Regions from separate parts of the Homo sapiens genome. Here all the other regions are linked to region 1. Evidence: promoter capture Hi-C in 16 types of primary human blood cells and fetal thymus (Javierre and others, 2016). All regions are on one chromosome and are shown on one strand. Each heading gives the region's core, a stretch centred on a gene start or on the middle of the fragment in contact. The rest is flanking DNA. Distances are from core to core; before and after follow the strand shown. Region 1 holds the start of MTURN (maturin, neural progenitor differentiation regulator homolog). Region 2 overlaps GARS1 (glycyl-tRNA synthetase 1). Region 3 overlaps NOD1 (nucleotide binding oligomerization domain containing 1). Region 4 overlaps NOD1 (nucleotide binding oligomerization domain containing 1).

Region 1 (5,916 bases), core at 884-3,383:
CTAAGGAAACCCAACGGTATCCATTTCATTGACCAATTGCTTTGTACCCAAAATTTTATTTTTCATAAGAGTTTTTCATTTTCTGACAAAAACTATTTGTTAAATAAACATAACTTCATAATTCTGATCACATCACTTGGAGCAAATTTGACTGATACATTTTAAAACACATGGATTAAAAAAAAAACTCCTTCTTTCCCGAAAAAGGAAAAAAGGAATGTATTTTTCATATTTTCATCTCCAATTTAAGGAATTCATTTTTGGAACACATATTATGCTTTAAATGGTGGTGCCAGGTAAAACTGCAAGGAAGCTTGTGCTATCTGGAGACACCCATACTTTTTTTTTTTAAGGACCATTTTGTAACTTTACAACAGCATATTGCATTTTTATATTCATGTGCCTGTCTCCTTCATTGTCCTGTGTATTAGTTTTCTACTGCTGCATGAAGAATTTAAACAGACCTAACAGCTTAAAACAACACCCATTTAATAGCCCACAGTTCTGAAAGTCGGAAGTCCCAGCACAGCCATGGCATCACTGGGTTCTCGCTCAGGTTCTGCGAAGGCTGCAATCATGGTAATAGTCAGGCTCAGTTCTTGTCTGGAAAAGACAACAAGTTTGAGAAAAAAATCTGCTTTTCAAGCTCATTCGGGTTGTTGGCAGAATTCAGTTCCTTGCAACATTGGCCTAGGCAAATAATTTATGACTAAAACCCCAAAGGAAGTGCAACAAAAACAAGAATAGACAAATGGGCCTTAATTAAACTAAAAAGCTTCTGCACAGTAAAAGAAACAATCAACAGAGTAAATAGACAACCTACAGAATGAGAGAAAATATTTGCAAACTACGCATCTGACAAAGGACTAATATCCAGAATCTACAAGGAACTCAAACAACTCAACAAGAAAAAAAAAAAACCCATTAAAAAGTGGGCAAAGGACATGAACAGATATTTCTCAAAAAAGACATACAAGTGGCCAACGAACATATGAAAAAATGCTCAACATCCACTAATTATCAGAGAAATGCACATTAAAACCACAATGAGATACAATCTCACACCAGTCAAAATGGCTATGATTAAAAAGTCAAAAAACAGCAGATGTTGGTGAGGGTGCAGAGAAAAGGAAACATATATACGTGTTGGTGGGAATGTAAATTCGTGCACAGTGCCTGGTTCAGAAGACACACTTTACAGAAAAAAGCTGGCTGAATGTTTATAACGTGTCTGTGTTTGTAGTGTTCAAGTCCTGAGGGCGAGGACCCTAGTGCATTTTCTGCAATCCAGTAATGCCTGTCCAGTATATGGCAGCCAGTGAGCACTCAACAGGTGCAATCGTTGGGCCACACACTCTTGTTTTAAAATGTGCTTTATCCTCTTGACCTTTTTAGGTTATGCAATGTGAATTCAAGCTGAATAATACTGAAGCCAGTCTTATGAGGCTCATTTCTAAGAAATATTCAGCTTTACGTAACGCAAATAAAAAATCACACACGCCCTTTGCAAGTGAACATTCATATTAGTGTCTGATAAATGCATTAAGAAGACACATTCCCTTAAATCAATCGGAGAACAGAACTTTGGTTTCTGCAAAAAGAAAAGCTCCCTTTTCCTTAGATTTTCTCAGCTCCTCCACTGCTAGCCCCAGACAAGGTCCAAGTTATCTGCAGTTCTATGGCCTCCCTTGCATTTAAATCGCATTTGGGCAAACGCTTCCTGGGCTTTCTAACTCCACAGAAACGCTAACCAGGTATTGGGCGCTCGCACCGCTTCCAGGTAACCCGCGGAGCTGCGGATTCCAGGCTCGCGCTGTGACGTCACCGGGCTCGCAAGCCGCGGCGCGGTCTCAGGCTCCGGTGATTGGCTGGGGCCCATGACGTCACGGCCCGGGGCGGCACCGCGATGGCCAGGGCCCCGGGATGCTCCGGGTTTGTTTAAAAATAAAGGGGGGGCGGGAGCGCCCAGGAAAATCCGGGCGCCCGCGGGGGTGCCGGCCGCTCCTCCCGCCGCCCCGCGTCCCGGCCCGGCCGCGCCAACCCCCACGGCGGCCCGCAAGGGGGCGGGGGGAGGCGGGGCGGAGGAGGAGCCGCGGGCGCGGCGCCGCGCTGTCCCCGGCCGCCGCCCGCCCCACTCCGCACCGCATGTAAACAGTCCCAGCCGGCCCAGCCCGGCCCCGGAGGAGCCCGCGCAGGCCGAGCCGAGCGCCGCGCTGCCCGCCCGGGAGGAGGGCGCCTAGGAGCGGGAGGGCGGGCGGCGGCGGGAGGCGGGCGCGGGGCCGCGATGGATTTCCAGCAGCTGGCCGACGTTGCGGAGAAATGGTGCTCCAACACGCCCTTCGAGCTCATCGCCACCGAGGAGACCGAACGCAGGATGGATTTCTACGCCGACCCCGGCGTCTCCTTCTATGTGCTGTGTCCGGACAACGGCTGCGGCGACAATTTTGTGAGTGCCTGGAGGAGGGACCGCCGGAGCCGGCGGGAGTGTGGACGCGGCGGTGCGTCCCTGCGCCCGAGCTCCCGCGCGGTGGGCGGCGGTGGGCGCAGAGTGGGGGGCCGTAACCCGCGCCCCGCGCCCCGCGTGCTCCGCCGGGGAAGCCCCGGGCCGGGCGGTGCGGGCTCCGCTGCCCGGGTGGGGCCCGGTGGGCGGCGGGCAAGGCGCCCGGAGGATCCGGGGAGCCGGGTCGGGGCGGGAGGTGTGGCGTCCCCCTAAAGGCCACTCCTCTCCCCGCTGCTGCGGGCGCCGTTTCGGGAACCCGACCTCGCGGCCCGTGCGCGGTGCCTGGCATGGAGCATCCCTGGGGTGTGGGTGTCACCCGCGTCGGACCAGCCGGGTCTGGGGCGCACGGACCCTCCGGCAGGAGCCCAGGTCCGGAGCTTCCCACATCCAGGCGTCCCGTCCGGGATAGGAATCCCGCTCCCCTCCGGTGCCCAGCCTCGGCTCCTCGCATTGCCCCTCCCGGGAGAACCCCACTCCCCGCCCTCGCGGGTTAGTCCTTGCACTGCCTGTTTGGACACAAAGCTCTGTCCATACTAGCGATGCCCGATCTCCTGGACCTTCTTTGCGGAATTACACCCCGGATCTTAATACGCACGCGCGCCTGCGCATACACCCCAACACACACACACACATGCTCACACCCTCACCCTCACACGCGCACACTCACGCGCACACGCGGCACGCCTCTCCCCCTGCCCCCGCGCTGCCCTCGCTGCCTCTCTGAGCTGCCCGAGAGGTGTGTGTGGCCCGGGCGGGTTCTCTCCAGCCGAGGCGGTGCCCTGGCCCTGCTGAAGCCCGTTGGCTTTTCCAGATGACGGGGAATCCCCTCAGCCCCGGCTCAGAGGGACCGGGAACTGGGACTGCGGTGTCCAAACCTTCCACTTTGAATCCTGCACCCACCTGGGATCCCGACTCTGGCAGTTGAGGAAGGGGATGCGGAGGGCAGGGGAGTCGGGGTGGGAGGGGTGGAGTAGGGCGAGCACGGTGCTCATGAAGTGTTTCCAAGGTCGGGGAATAAATAATGATCCCCAAATGTAAGATGGAGGCGGCCGTGGGCGCGGGTGACCGTGTGGTCGCGGGCCTTGTGGGCGGAGGTGGGGTGGTGCGGGGCGCGGCCTGGTGCACGCTCCTCAGGTGGGGGAGACAAAGCTGGGCCGTGGTCCTGCCGCCGAGCGCCCTGACCACCTACGGGAAGTTCGCGAAGGAGTTAGGGAGACTGCAAGACCGCCTTTCTTGGTCCTGGAGAGGTGAAGGCTTATGTATGCCTGGCCGATAAAGCATTCCCTCCGCCCACACGCACCCCCTGAGGAGGGCAGGGATCCACCTGGGCATTCCACAAGTGGCACTCCAGAAGAGGGATGGCCTTGTGTGACAGCCAGATTTGAGTTCTGGCTCTGTGACTGTGCTCAAATACCCACCCTGAGCTCAGTTTCCACATCCAAAAAAATAGGTATAATAATGCCAGCACCCAGGCGTTCATATAGGTAACGCACCGAATAGTCCCTAACACACAGCAAGAGCCCCACAAATTTGGGGTTAGAGACCTGGGGTTTCCCAGAATTTAGAGCTTGTCTCATTTTTTAAAGAGCCTTGGTTTTCCCACCTGTAAAATGGGGCTAATCAGAATACCTCCAGAAGAGCCAACTGAACAATAATATTAATGCCTGTAAGCCCATCTTAACTGTAGGTAAAGTAAGTAAATAAGTGTTCTTTTTGGAAGGAGTGGGAGATCATTAAAAAGGGATTCACTCCATTGCAAAAGTGTGAGAAAGCCCCCAGGATACAGTGGAAAGGGCACCAGAATCCAGCTGACTGTAAAATGTTAGGGTTTGGCTAGGGTCCCTTCCAGCTCTGGGCTTCCTTCATCTGCCAGCGCCCTTTCTCCCTCCTGACCGTGTGAAACAGGGCAAGAATGGCTCATGGTTCTGGATTTCACTGGGGAGAAGCCCACACAGCCTTCCTGCTGGGACCGCCCAGGCCATACCCAAAGAAATGACTCCAAAGACAGTAAGTGGGCCAGGAAGACAAAAGGCTGTTCTCTTGCCATGAATATGTGTATCCAACCATCGTTCAGAAGTAAGAAGTATTATATTATTTGTATCAGGCCTTTCTCTTGAGGCCACCCAGATTTTAAATATTTTCCCATCTGCATGAGAAAAATGCTTGAAAGTGTCATGTAAACTGACAATTTAAATAGAATAGATAGAAAGATAGAGGATGGGGGTGGGCAGATGATTCCTTGGGTAGAATGGAACTTTCTCCAAGTTCTGGAGGCTCTAATGGACAAGATGCCAACCTCGGGAGTTTTCCTAGCCGGACCTCTTGAATCTGTCCCAGGCCAGGTTTGTCAAGCTACTGTTTGCCTCTAATAAGTGTCCTGCCTTAGTTCTTTTCTTTTTCCCTGGAAAATGTATTAAGCATTAGACAAAAGTGTGAGATCAATGGAATTTCTATTAGTTGAAGGACTTAGCAATAAGAATGTCTACATGAGCATTTCTCAATTTACAAAAGTATTTCCACATCATTCATTCATTCATTCAACAAACATTTATTGAGGGTTTACTTTGTGCCAGGCCAGTGCTATCTAGAATACAAATAGGGTCTCTGCCTTCATGTTCCTGGGGCAATTTTTACTTGTCTAGGAAGCAGTGTGGTGTGGTGGTTAAGCACACAGGCTGTAGATCAGACTACTTGGGTTTGCACCTCAGCTCCCCGTATTTGTGTGCCTTGGGAAAGTTATTTAACCCCTCTATGCCATACTTTTTTTTTCTTTTTCTTTTTTTGAGACAGTCTTGCTCTGTCGCCCAGGCTGGAGTGTAGTGGCGTAATCTTGGCTCACTGCACCCTCTGCCTCCCGGGTTCAAGTGATTCTTGTGCGTCAGCCTCTCCAGTAGCTGGGATTAAAGGCGTGCACCCCACGCCCAGCTAATTTTTCTATTTTTCGTAGAGACAGGGTTTTGTTACGTTACTTAGGCTGGTCTCGAACTCCTGGGCTCAAGTGATCCTCCCACCTTGGCCTCCCAAAGTGCTGGGATGATAGGCGTGAGCCACTGCACCTGGCCTCTATGCCATAGTTTCTACATCTGTAAAATCGGGATGATAATATTAGTACCTCCTGAGCAGAGTTGTTTGAGAAAGGTATCTAAAGTAGGGGCAGCTTAGATAGTCTAAGCCACTGTCATTTTTCATCGTGTCTCCTAATTTGTCTCCTTGCTTATAACCTCCACCTCACTCTTACTGTAGTACTGAAGTGGAGGTACTAAATAGATCCAAAATGACTGCTTGGGGAGACTGACTCTAAGCCACTGTCTACCCAGCAGTCATTTTGGATCTATTTAAAATATAAGCCAGATCATGTCACCACTATCCCCCACCTCAGCTGAATTGACTTCCCATCTTTTATAATAAAACCTAAG
Region 2 (5,916 bases), core at 1,680-4,179, 460 kb after region 1:
TAATGACTGGTCTTGTTAGTAGCACATGTTTCATAGAAATTTGTTAATCTGGAAAATGAATGAAGTGAGTTTGTCACTTTAAGAAAACAACGGTTAGTATTTGTGGCCAATAATAAAATTCAAACTTTGGGGAAATTTTAGAATTTGGGAAGACTCGTATCTTTTGCTGTGAGCTTGGCAGCTTCACAGTCCTTAAAGATATCTGTGATGAGATGAGTGGTGATATTAACAAACGTGGATTTTTTTTTGATAGTATTTGGATAATCTGCGTAACTCAGTGAACCAGTGTTTTCCAGGTGACCAATGCATGATGTTATGAAATCAGGTATTGGTGAAAGAGCCATTCAAAGCTTAAGATACATTAATAGATTTATTCTGACAGTACAAAAAATTCATTGCTATAGTTTCTGAGTTAGAAATAACCTTGAAGAAGCTACCACTTGTCAGAGTTTTGAGGTAGTATCAAAGAATATCCACAATTATCCGAAACGGCTTTTAAAATTATTTTTCCTTTTCCACCTACATATGTCTTTCTTCATATACTTTACCCAGAACGTCATATTACAAAAGAAGCAGACTTTCCACATTGGTCTTTTAGGATTTTTCACAGATTAAGGTTACCAAAATAGTAAGTGCCAAACTCAAAATTTAAAAACCCATGAGGAAACAAGCCACCTTGAGTGAGACTTAGGGGAAATGATAATAGAATTAGATCCTCCAAAAGTATTAGAATAATCACATATTTTTAAAATGCTTAAGATAATTTTTAAAATAAAAGAAGTACTCAAAAACATGAGCAAAGAACAAGAGACTACCAAAAACAATCACACAGTGTGAAAATGAAGCACATATTGTATGGAAATGGATCACTGAAATTAGAAACTCTGTTGGGTGCCCAAGGGCTATATCAATTTAACAACTTTAATTACTCAGCTGAAAGTTTTTCATCCTATATAGGTAATATTTTGTTTGTTTACTCAGATGACCTATTCCACCATATTACTATAAATATGGAATTAGTATAAGTTGTTGGAAGTTAATAAAATAATTCAGAAATATTAGCAAGGAAAAAATTCCAACTGTAAAGAGAAAGGCAAAGGAAGATGAGCCAGCAGTGACTGAGAAGAATGGTCAGAGAAGTGGGAGGAAAACTGAATAATGTTTTTATTTTTTTTTGTAAGCGAGAGGAGAGAGATTTAAGAAGGTGGTCAATTTATTGGTTCTTCTGTGTTCTCAGTACAAATCTTGCTCTTTCCTACTTTTTAATCAATGCTTTTGTCTCCTCCTTTTTCACCCCTCTATACCCAAAGGAAAAAATTCACCATGTGAGCAGTTATTTGTTAACTTGCCCGTGTGTTCTTCTAGATTATTAAATGAAGAGGGCAGAGACCTTGATTCATAATGATCACTCACATAATAAACATTTGAATTGCATCATTCTTTTTTTTTTTTTTTTTTTTTTTCATTTTGAGACGGAGTCTCACTTTGTCACCCAGGCTGGAGTGTAGTAGCATGATCTTAGCTCAGTGCAACCTCCGCCTTCCGGGTTCAAGTGATTCTCCTGCCTCAGCCTCCCAAGTGGCTGGGATTACAGGTGCCCACCACCACGGCCGGCTAATTTTTGTATTTTCAGTAGCGATGGTGTATCACCATGTTGGCCAGGATGGTCTGAAACTCCTGATCTCAGATGGTGAGGAGGGCCTTTCAAAGTGCTGGTATTACAGGCGTGAGCCACCACGCTTGGCCTGAATTGCATCATTCTTACATAGACTTTTTAAAAGGCACGCTTAAAAACACATTCCTAACATTTCTTAACTTCTGAAACCAATCCTGAATATAAATTCTCTTTCTTGGCTAGGGAGATCTTGTGCGAAAACTCAAAGAAGATAAAGCACCCCAAGTAGACGTAGACAAAGCAGTGGCTGAGCTCAAAGCCCGCAAGAGGGTTCTGGAAGCAAAGGTGAGTCCTGGGATGCTAAAATAGGAACATAAGTAGGTATAGGATTGTTCATCTTTAATTTCTTTGGATGGGAGAGACCTAGAAAAGTTTCTGAACAAGTATCATTTGGTTTATCTGTTTATCCATAATGCCGCCTTCTCCTTTCCCTCTACCTGGTAGACTCCTCATCCTTTCAAAATGCAACTCAAAATGTCAACTTTTTAATAAAGCCTTCCTGACCCTGCAAATGCTGGACTCAATACGCTATATGAATTTCCATGGAAAGGATTGTGCTCTTCTTTACGACTTCTCTTATGCCTGAAAATAATGATTTTTGTTTGTTTGTTTGTTTTAAGGAAAAGGTCTGTTTATTTGATACCTGCTCCCAGACCTTTCAAACAATAGATCTCCCATCACCAAACTTAAGTTGTTTTGGGGTTTTAAAGTAACCATTTTGCTATAGCAATCCACTGACAATTCAAATATTGCTTTATATTGCTTATCAGTATCTACATCAAAGTAAACTTAGTCTTGTTTTTTTTTTGAGATGGAGTCTCGCCCTGTTGCCCAGGCTGGAGTGCAATGGTGCGATCTCAGCTCACTGCAACCTCTGCCTCCCGGGTTCAAGTGATTCTCCTGCCTCAGCCTCCCAAGTAGCTGGGATTACAGGTGCCCACCACCAAGCCCAGCTAATTTTTGTATTTTTAGTAGAGACAGTGTTTTGCCATGTTGGCCAGGCTGGGCTTGAACTCCTGACCTCAGGTGATCCACCCACTTCGGCCTCCCAAAGTACTGGGATTACAGGTGTGAGCCACCGCACCTGGTCAAGCTTAGTCTTGTAATCTTGGAAATGATCATATATTTTCCTAAATGATTAAGTAAAGATATCTTTTATATTACTCAAAGGGAAAAAAAGACCTATGGCTTCTATTGTTTTTAACCTATCAAAATCTTGTCTGTTTGATAAATTTTATATTTAATTCTGGTGAGGAATAAACTAAATTCAGATATATAAGTTCAGATTCCCACCCACCCCTCCACTCACTCACTTTTTATTTAATCTCTAACAGGAGCTGGCGTTACAGCCCAAAGATGATATTGTAGACCGAGCAAAAATGGAAGATACCCTGAAGAGGAGGTTTTTCTATGATCAAGCTTTTGCTATTTATGGAGGTAAGGGATTAATGACAAAAAGAACTATTGTGTTGTTAGTGGCTCTAATATTATACTTAAATCAAGAACATGGCTTGCCTGTTGGTATCCACTTGTATCAGGCCACAAAGCAGAGGATGGATGTTTTGCTTTTGTTTGCTTGGAGTCACCATTTGGTGTGATACCTGTTATTTTTCTCCACTGCATTTATTCCTGGACAGCACTTTTTTTGATTAGGATGTAGGGAATTGTTGGAGGCCCATGTATGTATTTGATGTGTCTGTGTACTCATGTACTCTTTTTAAAATGCAATGGAGACTGAAGAGTAACAGAGGGCCATTGTAGTACTGGCTAACTATACTATGCCCCTTCACACAGGGGCAGTGATAAAACAGTCCTTAGATTATTCTTTATGGTCATCTGCCAGGAGAAAACATTCTTCCCAGGGATGTAGATAAATCACTGTGAATGCCATATGAAGGTATATAGGCAAATACAATTCACTGATGAAATGTAAAACTATATTTTTCATAGTCAACGGATTATTACAACAACATTAGACATATAGTACTTTGCCACTGAAAGTTGACTTGAGTTTGGCTAAGTGGATCTGTAAATGTTTACCCTTTTGAGGTTAAATAGTGCCTCAAATACCCAGGAAAAAATTAGAGAATTGGATGCTAAAATTATAGATCATTGTTATCAGATGTGGTGAGAAATTATTTTGTAATTTTTACGGCAGAAAACTGTAATCTGCTTTTTCATTCTGTTCTCTAAGGGGGAACTTTTGTTGTAGATTTTGGGCTAGTCCTACTTGAAATTACAAATATAGAATTAGTAAATGGCGTAAGAGCTTTTTTATTTTACTTCCATCAGCTAGCTGAAAGTAAGGTTCTTCAGTATTGAGGGATTTGCATTGTTGACTTGAATACACTTTTAGGGAGTATAGGTATCAGTTTCTCATGTCTCCTTGCCTTCATTTGTTCAGAGTAACAAGGTAAAGTATGTGTTTTCCTCTCATATTCTATAGGTGTTAGTGGTCTGTATGACTTTGGGCCAGTTGGCTGTGCTTTGAAGAACAATATTATTCAGACCTGGAGGCAGCACTTTATCCAAGAGGAACAGATCCTGGAGATCGATTGCACCATGCTCACCCCTGAGCCAGTTTTAAAGTGAGATCTTACTTTGGAGTGGGGGTATCCTACTTTAAATAAAATAACTTATTAAATTATTTAATATACTTATCTAAATAACTTCCTGATTATAAAGAACTACTCATTTCATGTAGAAAATCTGAAAAATATGGAAAAGCAAAGAAATGTATACCTTCTGCTCACAGATAGCTATGTTAAGATGATTGTGTTTGTCCTTCCTGTTTTTTCTGTACGTCCCTATGTATTTCAGTGTTAGCAGTACACTGCTTATTTTCATGTAATATTGATGAACATATACTCATATCATTAACTATTCATCTAAAGCATTTTTAATGATAGCATAGTATTCTGTTTTATGGAAGTGCCATAATATGTTAGTTTGTGCCATATTGAAAGCATTAAAGTGTTTCTCATTTTTGACTGCACCGAATATCTTGATAGATGGATTTTTGGGTATATCCTTGATTATTTCCTTAATACAAGTTCTGAGCAAAGGTATACTTGTAGAGATTTTCAGTTAAATACTATTTGTTTTAAAGTTTCAATGCAGAAACTTAGATTATTCCTACCAACGTTATTGAAAGTAGGGCAGAATTTCCTTTTTTTGTGTGTGTGAGATGGAGTCTTGCTCTGTCGCCCAAGCTGGAATGCAGTGGCTTGATCTCGGCTCACTGCAAGCTCTGCCTCCCAGGTTCACGCCATTCTCCTGCCTCAGCCTCCCAAGTAGCTGGGACTACAGGCACCCACCACCACGTCTGGCTAATTTTTTTTTTGTATTTTTAGTACAGACGGGGTTTCACCATGTTAGCCAGGGTGGTCTCGATCTCCTGACCTCGTGATCCGCCCGCCTCGGCCTCCCAAAGTAGGGCAGAATTTCAGAATGTGAAACTGAAAGGAATTCTTTTATTTATTTATTTATTTTTTGAGATGGAGTCTCGCTCTGTCCCCCAGGCTGGAGTGCAGTGGGGCGATCTCTGCTCACTGCAAGCTCCGCCTCTCGGGTTCACGCCATTCTCTTGCCTCAGCCTCCAGAGCAGCTGGGACTACAGGCACCTGCCACCGTGCCTGGCTAATTTTTTTGTATTTTTAGTAGAGACGGGGTTTCACCATGGTCTCGATCTCCTGACCTCGTGATCCGCCTGCCTCGGCCTCCCAAAGTGCTGGGATTACAGGCGTGAGCCACTGCGCCCGGCCTGAAAGAGGAATTCTTGCCATTTTGTAACTCGTCATTATTCATTTAAGGTTGACTGGTGGAGAGCTAATTTTTACTATTGGCATCCGTTAGGTTCTCTTAATAATTTCAGCCAATGAAGAGGAGGAATTCTGAATGATGGCTCTATAAGATCAGGACTACCTATCATTTTAGCTACTTGTTCCACCAATAGGAACTTTGTAGAGATAATACCAATGTCAGTACAGGTTTCAGTGGCAGAAAACACTTCCCTTAAGGTTCAATGTCTATACTGAGCTGCCATGAATTCTTAACTAGTCAAATTCCCAGTGATTTTGGCCTTTGCTTAGATCACTAATAATAATGGCATAGGCATGGATTAATTGATCCTGAAGAATAGTACAGACTTTATGACAACTTGTAGAAAAGAATTGTCTTTTTATTGTCTAGTTAATGTCTTCTTTCTTATGGGAAGGAAGAATGTGGGAGAGGGTGAGAAA
Region 3 (5,916 bases), core at 2,560-5,059, 310 kb after region 1:
GGGTGCCTATAATCCCAGCTACTCGTGTGGCTGAGGCGAGAGAATCGCTTGAACCCAGAAGGCAGAGGTTGCAGTGAGCCGAGATCATGCCACTGCACTCCAGCCTGGGCAACAGAGCGAGACTCTGTCAAAAAAAAAAAAAAAAAAAAAAAAAAAGGAAATCCTGTCCCATGCTTCCATGTGGACGAATCTTGAGGACATGATGCTAGTGAAATCAGCCATCCCCAAAAGGCAAATACTGTATGATTCCACTTACATGAGGTAGAGTAGTCAAAACCATAGAGAGAGTAAGTAGCAGGGTGGCTGCAAGAGGCAGGGGGGAGGGGGACCGGGGAGTTATTGCTTAATGGGCACGGTTTCAGTTTCGCAGCATGGTGAAAGCTCTCCACTATCTCTCCCCGACAGCGAGCCCCAGTGGTCCTTCTGGTGTACTGATGTATGAAAAGAACAGCAAGGCCCGCCCCCCACACACACAGCAGGTTGTACCACATACATCCATCCCCTTCTACTCACCCAACCTCAGAGATTGATTTGCTGTTCTTCACAGCCAGGGCGAGATACTTCCCTCCTTCACTTGTTATTTTGTTTTTTCCCAGTCTGCAGAGAGAGTCACACACAGTCAGCCTCCAGCTATGCAGGGGCTCCAATGTGGGTCACCCTCCTCCCCAGCACAGAGCCCCTTCCAGCCCCATCTTGGGAACCGTACACTTTCTTCTGGGATCCACAAGAGCCATGGCCTGGGCCTCCTGTCAGGGAGGGAACTGAAGCCCTGAGGACAGTCAGTCAGGGTTCCTCTCCAGGAGATGGTCCACAGTCTCTGCAGAAGCTCAGGGACCTGAGCCCTCCCTGGGGTCCTCTAATTGACCTCAGCAGCATCACTGACTTCCCTCGGGAGACCTGGGAGGTCCCACTTTGACTGCCAAGGGTCAAGGTATGTGGCCACTGTCAGGGCAGGACCAGAGGCTCCAAGCCTGGCGCACTGTCACCCCCTGCGCAGGGCACACCTACAGCAGGGCAAGGGCCCAAGCTCTTCCTTGCAACCCGACAGGAAACTCCCTTGGGGCAAAAAGACCACCAGAAAGGGTGAGAGTTAGTCCTTTCTTCGGCCTAGTAGTTAATGAAATCAAAATGCCAACCTTTCCCCCTACCAATAACGGGAGGCCCTTCCAGAATCCAAGCCTCACAGATCACACAGAGGTATCTTTACTTGACCAACATGGCCCTGGGACAAGTGGAAGGCTTTAGGATGAAAGCTCTTTACTGTGACATTTAATCTTTGAACAACAGAAGGGGGTGATCAAGAGAATATACTAAGGAACCTGGTGCCTACCCCACTTACTTAAGATGCGTGAGGCCTTTGCATTCATCCAGGATTTTGGTGACGTACCTGGCTCCGACATCGGTGATCTGGTTGTTGTATAAACTTCAAGAGAAAGCACAGCCATGAGACTTTCTGGCTCCTGATGTCATTTTAATAGCCCCTGTTTTTTGAAGCATATGGTGTCTACTGATTTCCAAAGTCTGGGTTGAAAGGGGAACACACAGGCACCAGAGTTTAGGGCTCTGAGGTCTCACAGCTCAGGTTCAAAACCAGCTCCACTACTTTCCCCAGCTTTATGGCCTGAGACAAGTCACGTTACCTCTCTGTGCCTCAGTTTCTCCATCTGTAATACAGAGGTAATGATGATAGTCCCCTTGCAGGGTGGTTATGAGGATCTTAGGACATAACGCAAAGCCCTGGTGCATGAGTGCTCGGTGACTGGCAGGTGATGGGTATTTACAACTAAGATTACATTCAGCGTCTTGAGAAGAAAAGATTCTGAATATTAAAACTTCTCGATGTCTACCTTTCAGCCATCTCACCGCTCAATGCCAATTCAATAGTACAGCAGATGGAAGTTGAAAGGCAGCTAAGCTCAGGCTTCCAGGGTTCCACAGCCACACAGAGCCCTGGAGCCGAGTGTGGCCCGGGGTCGTTTGCGTCCATGTCCTCATTAACATCGAAGGCCACTGAGGCCCCAAGAAACTGAACAACTGCTCCAGCTTGCAGAGCCACCAGTTGTGTGGGGCTGGCCCGCAATCCCTTCTCTCAGACTCCAAAACCTCAAAGGCTCTGAATGCCCAAAGTTTCTCACAATTCTTTTGGCAACTGATGTGGAGCTACTTATAGTCTTTCTTACCACACTTGGTTTGACTGTTTCATACATTCTGCGGGAGAAATATGAAAGTGTTTGAAAATGGGGCACTGCCTTAGACCCCTGCGGCCACGTCATGCCATAGCATGCACTCAGAATCCCCATTCGGGTCTTGCCCCAAAGGCTCTGGATGAGGGATTATGGACCCAAAATAGTCCAGACTAATATGTAAACAGGATTCTAGCATTTATTAAATATATCCCCTTATATTCTCGTTGCATCCCCCAATAACCAGTTGTAAGCCTACTTGCCTATACTGGGATCCCAGTTTTACAGGTGAGGAGGCTGAGGCTCAGCAAGACTTCATGACTGGCCGAGCCACAAAGAGAACCCAGGACTCTCAACTCCTGGGCCAGCGCTCTTCCCAGCCCTGGGCCATCCGTGCCGATCATCCAGGGACCTATGGGAATGTGAATTCCCTGCAGCTCTGTATTATTACTAGGTAGTTGGCCCAGTGTTCTGGAGAAAGACATACCCCAAATAGGTCACAATTTTGTATTTGGTCAGCTCTTCGCTTAGCACCTTTACCCCACCGTCAGTGATCTGGTTTACGCTGAGTCTGAAATAAAACAGCAAAAAAATTACGAGTCAGGGCAGGCACTCATTATGAAGGACCATTAATCTTACAAAGATCCAGAAGCCTTCAGGCCCTGGAGTTTTCTCAGGTATAGACGCCCCTGGAGAATGGCCACAGCAATCAGCCAAATAGCCCCTTACAAAGCCTGGCCAACGTGGGGCCGCCAGACCCATCCTGCACCAGCCCATGAGCGAGGCTGCAGCACAGCCCCTGGCTCCTCACACGACCGTGAAGGACACAGGGAGGACGTGTGAGGCCAGCCACCTCTGACATCCACCCTTTGCGTGTGACCTATGTGTCAGCCAGACCCTGTACCTGGTTCTCGTATGGTGGAGGGCATGGGTTTGGAAATGTCAGGGGCTGCTTTTAGTGGTTGTGACTGGAGGAGGGAGTGCCCTGTCATCTTGCAGGCAGGGCCAATGATGTTAGGTGTCCTGCAAAATGCTGGACAGGTCTCACAAGAACTGTTATACCCAAAATGCCAACAGCTTCCCCCCATCCAGAAACACATGGGCTAACCCTGATTTGTCACTGGAAAAGGCTGTGAGTCCCACTGTCAAAGGAGACTGCTCATGTCATTCTGTAAAGTGTCAGACAGCAAATATTTTAGGCTCTGTGGGCCATGTGGTCTCTGTCACAGCTACTCAACTGTGTAGTGTGAAGCAGCCAGTAAGTAAATAAATGGGTATGGCTGCGTTCCAATAAAACTTTACTTAGAAACACAAGCCTTGGGCCCAATTAGACCCACAAGCTGACCTTGATAACAAGTAAAAGGCTGAACAATTAAAAGCTTGATTTTTAGGCCACATCAAAATGATCAAGTCAGACACTCTGGACCCTTTCCCTCAGAGTCCCCAGCTTGGTGCTGGGAAATAGTGTGTATGTACATGGCATGGCCAGCCCAAGACAGCACAGGCTGCTAGACATTCCCAATATCTATACTTTCTTAGCAATAGATTCCCCCATCTTTTAGCTGGGCCCATCTCATTAAATTCTGCCCATACCATTAAGTTCTGAAATCTAAGCAGCAATATAATTAGTAATAGCCAAGAAGTGTTCTTAAAAGATTGAGGCATGCTCTCAATCTTTGCCCTTCCTTCTTACTGATAGCTAGAGTGTCGACTAGATGGCTGGAGTTTGAGCAGCCCTCTTGGGCCAAGATGGGAAAGCCGGGTAGTGAGGATGGCAGAACAGGAAGGCAGAAGAGAGCCTGGGCTCCGGAGGGTCATGGAGACTCCATACCAGTCCTGAACTACCTACCTCTAGACTTTTACATGAGAGAAATAAGCTTGTAACTCACCAACATTTGGGGTTTTCGCTCTCAGCTAAAACTAATCCTAACTGATGCAGCCAGAGAACTGAGTGTGCTTCCCGTGGTTACCCATATCCTCTGCTTTCCTACAAGCTGTTTTTTCTTGCACTGGTGTGAAGGAAAGCTTCACCTGGGGACAGCAGGAAGGGCAGGGCCACCACACTGGTGTGGAGTTTCCCATTGAAAAGATGGACAGAGGGGTCGGGTGCGGCGGCTCATGCCTGTAACCCCAACATTTTGGAAGGCCGAGGCGGGCGGATCACCTGAGGTCAGGATTTCAAGACCAGCCTGGCCAACATGGGGAAACCCCGTCCTACTAAAAATACAAAAAACTTAGCCGGACATGGTGGCGTGTGCCTGTAATCCCAGCTACTCAGGAGGCTGGGGCAAGAGAATCGCTTGAACCCAGGAGGCGGAGGTTGCAGTGAGCTGAGATCACGCCACTGCACTCCAGCCTGGGCAACAGAGCGGGACTCCATTTGGGGGAGAAAAAAAAAAGATGGACAGAGGGTGGCACTGAGTGTGAGACTGCCTGGGGCTACAGAGGGAGAGTCACTGGCTGAGAGTACAGAGAACAGACTCCAGGTTTTCCAATTCCCAGGCTAGGGCAGCCTTCGACCCCCTGCACCCCATGTCCCCATGCAATTATTTACACTCTGACACTGGTGTGACAGGCACTGGGAGTCAGTTCCAAATCCCTACTGCTTTTTAGAAATGCATGAGTCAAGTAATGGCAAATTTAACCCCCTGTAGAGATTTACAAGGTTTATTTTACATAGGAAATGCTAATAGAAGAAAACAGACTGGGCTCTGTTTCCCGTAAACTATGGAACAGGAAAACAACCACGAGTCAGCATTTTAACTGAGGTCTCTAGCAGTGTGAAGGGCTGCTAGCGTTGATCACAGAAAGTCACCAGTGCCAACTGGCACAAGGTCTGCTTTCTCTGCAGTAATAAAAGCTCCCATATTCCAGAAACTTTTTGAGGGCTATCTCGGAGCCTTACATTAATCTTAAAAGGAAGGTTCTTTATGCATTCTGGCACTGCTATGTCTGAGCTGTGTGACCTAAAGCAAGCTATTAACTTCTCTGTGCCTCTACTTCCTTATCTGCCAAAATAGAGACAATAACAGTACCTAAGTTACAGGGTTGTAAAGAGCATTCCATTAGGTAATATTTGTAATGCACTTCACCCATTCTCAACTAACATTGGTCCCTGTGGCCATAATTGATAGGATTATGAGCATCTTCTTTTTCCAGATGAGGGCGTGGAGGCTCTGAGAGTTAAGCACTTTGTTCAAGGGCACCCAGCTGTGGCTGATCCAGGTCCACCTGCCTCGAAGCTTTGCACCTTGACCTCTGCCCTGCTAAGAAAGAAAAGGTCTGGACATTCCAAGGGCCATGGTCATGAGTCCTGGGGGATCCTGGTCCATGATGCCATTCCCGATGCCCTCCGAGCCTGGCCCGCCCGGCCCACCTGTTGCTCCCCTTGCCTGGCAGCCTCACCTGAGAACAGTGAGGCGGCTGAAGCAGGGCTGCAGCTCCCGCACGCCGTAGTCGTTGAGATTGTTGTTGTCTAGGTCTAGGGCCAGCCGCTTGGGGAAGTGATGCAGGACGAAGGAGAGGGCGCTGCAGTCGGCCGAGCAGGCGTTGCAGTAGGTCAGCTTGAGGTAGTTGGCGCAGATGCCCCTGGCCGCCAGCTGCCCCACCTTCTGGCTCTGTGTCTCGTAGATGCAGCGCAGCATCCAGATGAACGTGGGCATGGCCTGCACCTGGTTGAAGCTTTCGACCTGAACGCGGGGCAGGCTCTTCAGGTAGCCCCGCAGGCTGGAAA
Region 4 (5,916 bases), core at 2,138-4,637, 300 kb after region 1:
TCCCCAGTCATGAAAGGAGGACATAGTTAATAAGGCCCCTCTCCCAGCATCCACCCAGTCCCACGTCACCCAGGCAATTAAGTTGTTAAGGGAGCTGCTGAGTGGGGAGTGTCTGTGCCTTATGGGAGGCAAGAAAGAAGTGGCATGGCGCTCAATGTCACAGTAAAGCAAACTTTTTTTCTTCTATTAGCATAAGGAAGTTCTCAAAGCAGAAAAAAGAAGTAGACAAAGAGCACAGGTCAGTTCAAGTCAGCCTGGAAATGTCTTACGGAACCCAGAAAAGGGGAAGAATGAGCTCCAAACTCCTGGCCAACACAGTCATCTCTCAATTGCTGAGTCCCAGGGGGATTTACTTCCACTAGGAAATCATTTCACTGGCCACTTCCCCCATCCCACCCAATGAAGGTAGATGAGGGCGGGGGCCCAGGGCAGGAGAGCACAGAATATGGAATCAGGCATTCTGGGCTGAATTCTAGCTTCTCTCGTAGTGACCTTGGGCAACCTTATTTCACTGGTCTGGGCCTCTGTCTACCTCTGTAAAACAGAGGTAATACCATTACTGTGCAGGGTTGCTGGAGGAATAAACAGAAACCACCCTGCGTTGTGCCTTGCACAGTCAGTGGTGGTGAGTAAACAGTCACTGGTGTTATTACTGTGACAAACGCTGGGATCTTACCAAATCTCTGTTATGCCAGTGTTGCTCTGTAACGCATCTGCCAGCTGGGCAGTCCCCTTAGCTGTGATCTGATTCTGGATAAGCCTGAAAGAAGAACATAACTTGTATAAAATCCATAATACTGGATCAAATTTGACCCCTTCGTAAGGGAGTTGCAAGGGTGTTTTGGGATAAGAGACAAGTTGGTCAGGGGAAGAACTGAGTCCATGTGACTTTGTATCTGGCTAAAAGTGTCCAGGTAAGATCCACTAGAGTAAAGGATAGCTTGATATTTTTTAAATTTTCTGTTTGTTTTTATAGTGAACATAATGTAATACATGAACTGATGTGTGTGTTTGCATTTTTCACTGCAGAGGTGCATAATCAAAATATTTGGGGCCGGGTGCAGTGGCTCACACCTGTAATCCCAGCACTTTGGGAGGCCGAGGTGGGTGGATCACGAGCTCAGGAGATCGATACCATCCTGGCCAACCTGTCTCTATTAAAAATACAAAAAAATTAGCTGGGCATGGTGGTGTGCACCTGTACTCCCAGCTACTCGGGAGACTGAGGTAGGAGAATTGCTTGAACTGGGAGGTGGAGGTTGCAGTGAGCCAAGATCGTGCCACTGCACTCCAGCCTGGGTGACAGAGTGAGACTCCATTTATATTTTTATATATATTTGGGAGACCACCAATCTGAACAACAAATTGTAAGAAACACACCATGGGACAGGAAGTCTGACGTCTCCTTCCAGGTAGCTAGGGAAAGGCAAGGCAGGTTTTAAAGTTAAGAGGCTACCAACATGCAAGAGGGAGGGAGGAGAAACAGTTATGCTGCCATGAAATAGTTCTCATGAATAGTTCTCATGGGGCTCAGTGGAAAAGCTTTAATAATGGGGACTCTGAGAATGCACCCCATTGTTCTGGGTAGCAGTGATTCAAATGAAACAAAGTTTTCAGCTATCGCTAGGAAGCCAGGCCTCTCCTGAAATGCTCCCTTGGGCAGCTACGCTTCTAACCCAACCAGGAAATAAATGCATCAAGAGGCTGTAGTGTCTCCGCTTCATCACAGAGTCATTCCCTGCTCCTGGCTGTTTGTAGAATAGGCTCCTGCTAAACATGACCCTTAGAAATCCTGGCACTGACCCAAGAAGGAAGCCCTTACCAGGAAGACGAGGGCCCTATGCTGTCATGAATGAAGAGGACTCCCTCGTGAGAGGCAGTATTGCAGAGCGGGTGCAGCTCCTCTTAAACCCTCCCTCCCCACTGTTCAGCTACAGAACCTTGAAGAAATAAACGCATCTGTCTGTGCCTCAGTTGTGTCATCTGTAAACTGAGAATAACTATAAGAGTGCCCCCCATCCACTGGGTGTGTGAGATTTCAAGAGGAGGGTATTAGGCACAGTGTCCAGGGGGAAGGGAGCTCTTGTCACTGTTACTGCCCAAGCACACAGGACCACTGGTGGCTGGGCTGCAGCCAGGATCTGGTGCTCCCAGCCATACCCCACAAGGGCTAGGGCCCCTGGGTTCAATGGCAGAGGTAATGACCTTCCCTTTCAAAAGGGACAAAAATAGAACCAGGAAGTGGGCACCAAGTTCTGTATTCAGTTACACTCTGCTGTTTTCTAGTCACCACTTAGGCTTTTTTGAAGGCAGGGAAGGCAGCCTCCAACCAAGATGTGGCAGGAGGCCAGGAAGGAGAGCACCTAATGCCCCTAAAAAGCCTGCAGTGTCCAGGCACATCCACCCACTCGGGCTGCCTTCACTAGGGCCAGTGCAGGTTGGGAATGCACAAAGCAGCCAAGACTCTCTTTCTGACCCTGTCCTAGCTCTGCTCTCCCTGGAGAGGCTGGCCTGCACTTAGGGAATGGGATCAAATAATTCTGCAGGCTAAAAAGGAAAGAAAAAACAATATGTAGCAGAGTCTAGTCTTTTTGCAGAAATTGACAAGGTGAGTCTGAATTCATAAGAAATGCAAAGAACCCAGAATGGTCTAAACAATCTTGAGAAAGAAGAACAAAGTAGAACTCACACCTCCTGATTTCAAAATGTACTACACAAAGCTACAGCAATGGTCCTGGCATAGGAGAGACATATAAATCAATGGACCAGAACAGAGAATTCAGAAATAAACCCATACATTTATGGTCAATTGATTTTTGACAAGGGTGTCAAGGCCATTCAATAGGAAAAGATAATCTGTTCAACACGTGGTGCTGCCGGGACAGCTGGATATCCACGTGCAAGAGAATGAGGTTAACCCTCACTTTACACTATACAAAAATTAACTCAAAATGGATTGCAGACCTATATGTGAGGGGAAACAACTATAACGCTTAACAGAAAACTTAGGTGGAGTTCTTTGTGATCTTGGATTAGGCAATCATTTCTTAGATAAGACACTGAAAGCACAAGCAACCAAAGAAAAAAATAGATAAATTGGACTTCATCAAAATTAAAAACTATTGGCCAGGTGCAGTGGCTTTTCGCCTGTAATCCCAGCACTTTGGGAGGCTGAGGCAGGTGGATCACCTGAGGTCAGGAGTTCAAGACCAGCCTGGGCCTAAATGGTGAAACCCCATCTCTATTAAAAATACAAAATGAGACAGGCATGGTGGCTGATGCCTGTAATCCCAACTACTCAGGAGGCTGAGGCAGAAGAATCGCTTGAACCCAGGAGGTGGAGGTTGCAGAGAGCTGAGATCATGCCACTGCACTCCTGTCTGGGTGACAAGAGCAAGACTCCATCTCAAAAAAAACAAAAATTAAAAACTGTTGTCCTTTAAAGGTCACTATCAAGAAAGAGGAAAAACTCCACAGAAAGAAAGAAAATACTTGCAAAACCTGTATCTAGTAAAGGTCTAGCACCCAGAATATATAGAGAACCCCTATAACTCAGCATTAGAAGACAAACCCAATTTTAAAATGGGCAAAGGATATGGAGACATTTCTCCAAAGAAGCTATACAGACTCCCAGTAGGCACATAAAAAGACATTCAACATTGTTGTCATCAGGGAAATGCAAATCAAAACCACAATATTACTTCACATCCACTAGTATAACTAGATTTTAAAAGATGGACAATAATAAGTGTTGGTGAGGATGTGGAGAAATTGGAATCCACATACATTGCTGGCGAGAATGTAAAATAGTACATCCACTTTAGAAAACAGTTTGGTGGCTCCTCAAAAAGTTACAGAATTGCCATATGACCCAGAAATTCTATTCCCAGGTATATTCCCAAAAGAGATGAAAACATATGTTCACCCAAAAGCATGAACAGGAGTGTTCACAGTAGCATTACGCATAATAGTCAAAAAGTAGAAACAACCCAAATGTCCCATCAACTGATTAATAAACTGCAAAATTTCCTTAGAGTGAATTATCATTTAGCCATAAAAAGGAATGAAACATGCTAGAACACAGAGACAAAAGGTCACATATTGCTTGATTCCATTTATATGAAATGCCCAGAGTAGGCAAATCCATAGAGACAGAAAGCGGATTAGTGGTTGCCAGGGTCTGGGGAGGAGGACAGGGAGTGACTGCTTAATGGATACCAGGGCTTTTTGGAGTGGGGAGGAGGAGTGAAAATGTTCTAGAATTAGGTGGTGATGGTTGCACTAAAAACCTCTGAATTGTATACTTTAAGAGAGTGAATTTTACAGTATGTAAATTTTATCTCAAAAAATACTTTTGAAAAGTAGCACAGTCTGAAATTGTAAGGCTCTCTGAGTTACCATAAATGCTTTAACGTCTGGTTGACTTTCAACATTTCTGCCAAACTCTCTGCCACTTCATCGTTGAGTTCATTTTGGGTCAGCCTAAGGAAAAAAAAGGAAGTATTTACTCAAGAGAGCCTACTTGGCAGACATTGTTTTAGAGTTCACAGGAGCGGGAGCTCAGCCCAAGGCTCTCCAGCTATGCAGATGATCACTTGCTGAGAACCCAGAAAACAGCCAGGCTCCAAGCCCAGCCTGTCAGCCCCACAGAAGGTCAATGGGACTCATTTTTAATGCAAATCCTGTACCTGGGCTCCTATTTCTTAGCCCAGCTACCTGTAGAGGAGCCCACCCTCCCTCCCCACCTTTGCTGAGCCCTCAGATTTCATGGAAGATGGGGGCCCACGGAAAACAAAGGGCCAATGCCTGCTTCTCAGTTCTCCTCTAGTCCCAGGGTCCCTTGAACACCACTGACAGTGTGTTATCCAAGTTAGTTTGAAGACCTGAAACAGTCACTGACTGCACATTAAAATGTGTTCAGTACTTTGCTCTCAGTTAACTTGTGAGGGACCCAAGTTAAGTGACTGAAAGTTCAGGAAGTCTCTCAATGGTCCTTAGAACCAGAAGTGGTCTGGATAAAGCACCAAAGCTCCTTGGTGTAAACAGGGTAGGACCCACTTGTGCCAGTGGACGAAAGAATCATTAGGAAGAAGAATAGAACAGAAAGAACATTTAAAAAAAAAAATTCCTTGAAGGGCAGTTTGGATGTGCCTGCCCAAATTTTTAATGTGCTTCATTTTAAGACAATCAGACTTCTAGAAATTTACCCTACAGTGTGCAAGGATATACACACAAAGCTTTATACATTGCAGCATGCATTGTGGTATTATCCTAATGTAAAATCTGAACAAATTTAGATCAGAAACAACTGATGAAATATATTGTGATATCTATTCGAGATGTTGTGCAGCTTGTAGGGAGAATGAGGTAGAATGAGGAGGGAGAAGAACACAGCATTGACATCTACTCCGGACTCAGCCTGGGCAGGTTTGTATCACCCACCAGCAGGGTGACCTCGGGCAACAGGCTTAAGTTCTTTGGGTCTGAGTTTTCTCACTGGTGAACGTTAACAGTAGAGATCGTATAGAGTGGTTGTGAGGCTGAGTGAGTTAACACAGGGAAAAAGTGTAGAATAACACATGGCATGCAGTCAGCACTTGAGGGCTTCTAGGTGTTGACATTACTACTATCCATGTGATTTCACTCTCCATGGGGCACCTGGCCATGTCCGGAGGCATTTTTGATCCTCACCACTGGGAGGTACAGGGCAGAGATGCGGCTAAACCGTCTATGATGCACAGGACAGCCCTACCATAATAAAGAATCACTTGGACCAAAATGTCAACAGCATCAAGATGGAGAAACCCTAAAGGAGACATGTAAAGTATGTGATTACAATATTTTTAGAGCCACTGCTTGAATGCTATTCTGTTTTGCATATCTTTGAACATACATAGAACAAAAGGCTAGAAAGGA

The links. The method cuts DNA at HindIII sites, captures the fragments that hold promoters and counts their contacts. A CHiCAGO score of 5 or more calls a contact.
Region 2: a fragment that was not itself captured here is called in contact with the fragment with the promoter of MTURN in region 1 in 1 of 17 cell types (neutrophils); the score reaches 5.2 in neutrophils.
Region 3: a fragment that was not itself captured here is called in contact with the fragment with the promoter of MTURN in region 1 in 2 of 17 cell types (monocytes and neutrophils); the score reaches 5.9 in monocytes.
Region 4: a contact is called between a fragment that was not itself captured here and the fragment with the promoter of MTURN in region 1, in 1 of 17 cell types (naive B cells). The highest score is 8.3, in naive B cells.

The regions. Positions count from the first base shown.
Region 1 is chr7:30,132,853-30,138,768 of GRCh38, forward strand. MTURN (maturin, neural progenitor differentiation regulator homolog) reads left to right here and starts at 2,134. Exons shown (of 3, transcript NM_152793.3): 1 at 2,134-2,446. The coding sequence starts at 2,285. LOC105375216 (a long non-coding RNA gene) reads right to left here and starts at 1,862. Exons shown (of 3, transcript XR_927146.3): 1 at 1,752-1,862; 2 at 465-603. RefSeq lists silencers at 2,032-2,281, 2,052-2,429, 2,622-2,761, 3,082-3,261. The HindIII fragment of the contact is 5,435 bases long and covers 774-5,916 here.
Region 2 is chr7:30,596,938-30,602,853 of GRCh38, forward strand. GARS1 (glycyl-tRNA synthetase 1) reads left to right here. Exons shown (of 17, transcript NM_002047.4): 2 at 1,859-1,960; 3 at 3,010-3,112; 4 at 4,122-4,263. Among named protein-coding and RNA genes, the nearest start is that of GARS1, 5.0 kb to the left of the region's middle. The HindIII fragment of the contact is 326 bases long and covers 2,767-3,092 here.
Region 3 is chr7:30,445,628-30,451,543 of GRCh38, forward strand. NOD1 (nucleotide binding oligomerization domain containing 1) reads right to left here. Exons shown (of 14, transcript NM_006092.4): 6 at 5,589-5,916; 7 at 2,671-2,754; 8 at 1,340-1,423; 9 at 514-597. Among named protein-coding and RNA genes, the nearest start is that of NOD1, 30 kb to the right of the region's middle. RefSeq lists a silencer at 212-371 and an enhancer at 3,899-4,399. The HindIII fragment of the contact is 498 bases long and covers 3,561-4,058 here.
Region 4 is chr7:30,428,698-30,434,613 of GRCh38, forward strand. It overlaps NOD1 (nucleotide binding oligomerization domain containing 1), which reads right to left. Exons shown (of 14, transcript NM_006092.4): 12 at 4,399-4,482; 13 at 677-760. Among named protein-coding and RNA genes, the nearest start is that of LINC01176, 41 kb to the left of the region's middle. RefSeq lists an enhancer at 5,586-5,725. The HindIII fragment of the contact is 3,695 bases long and covers 1,541-5,235 here.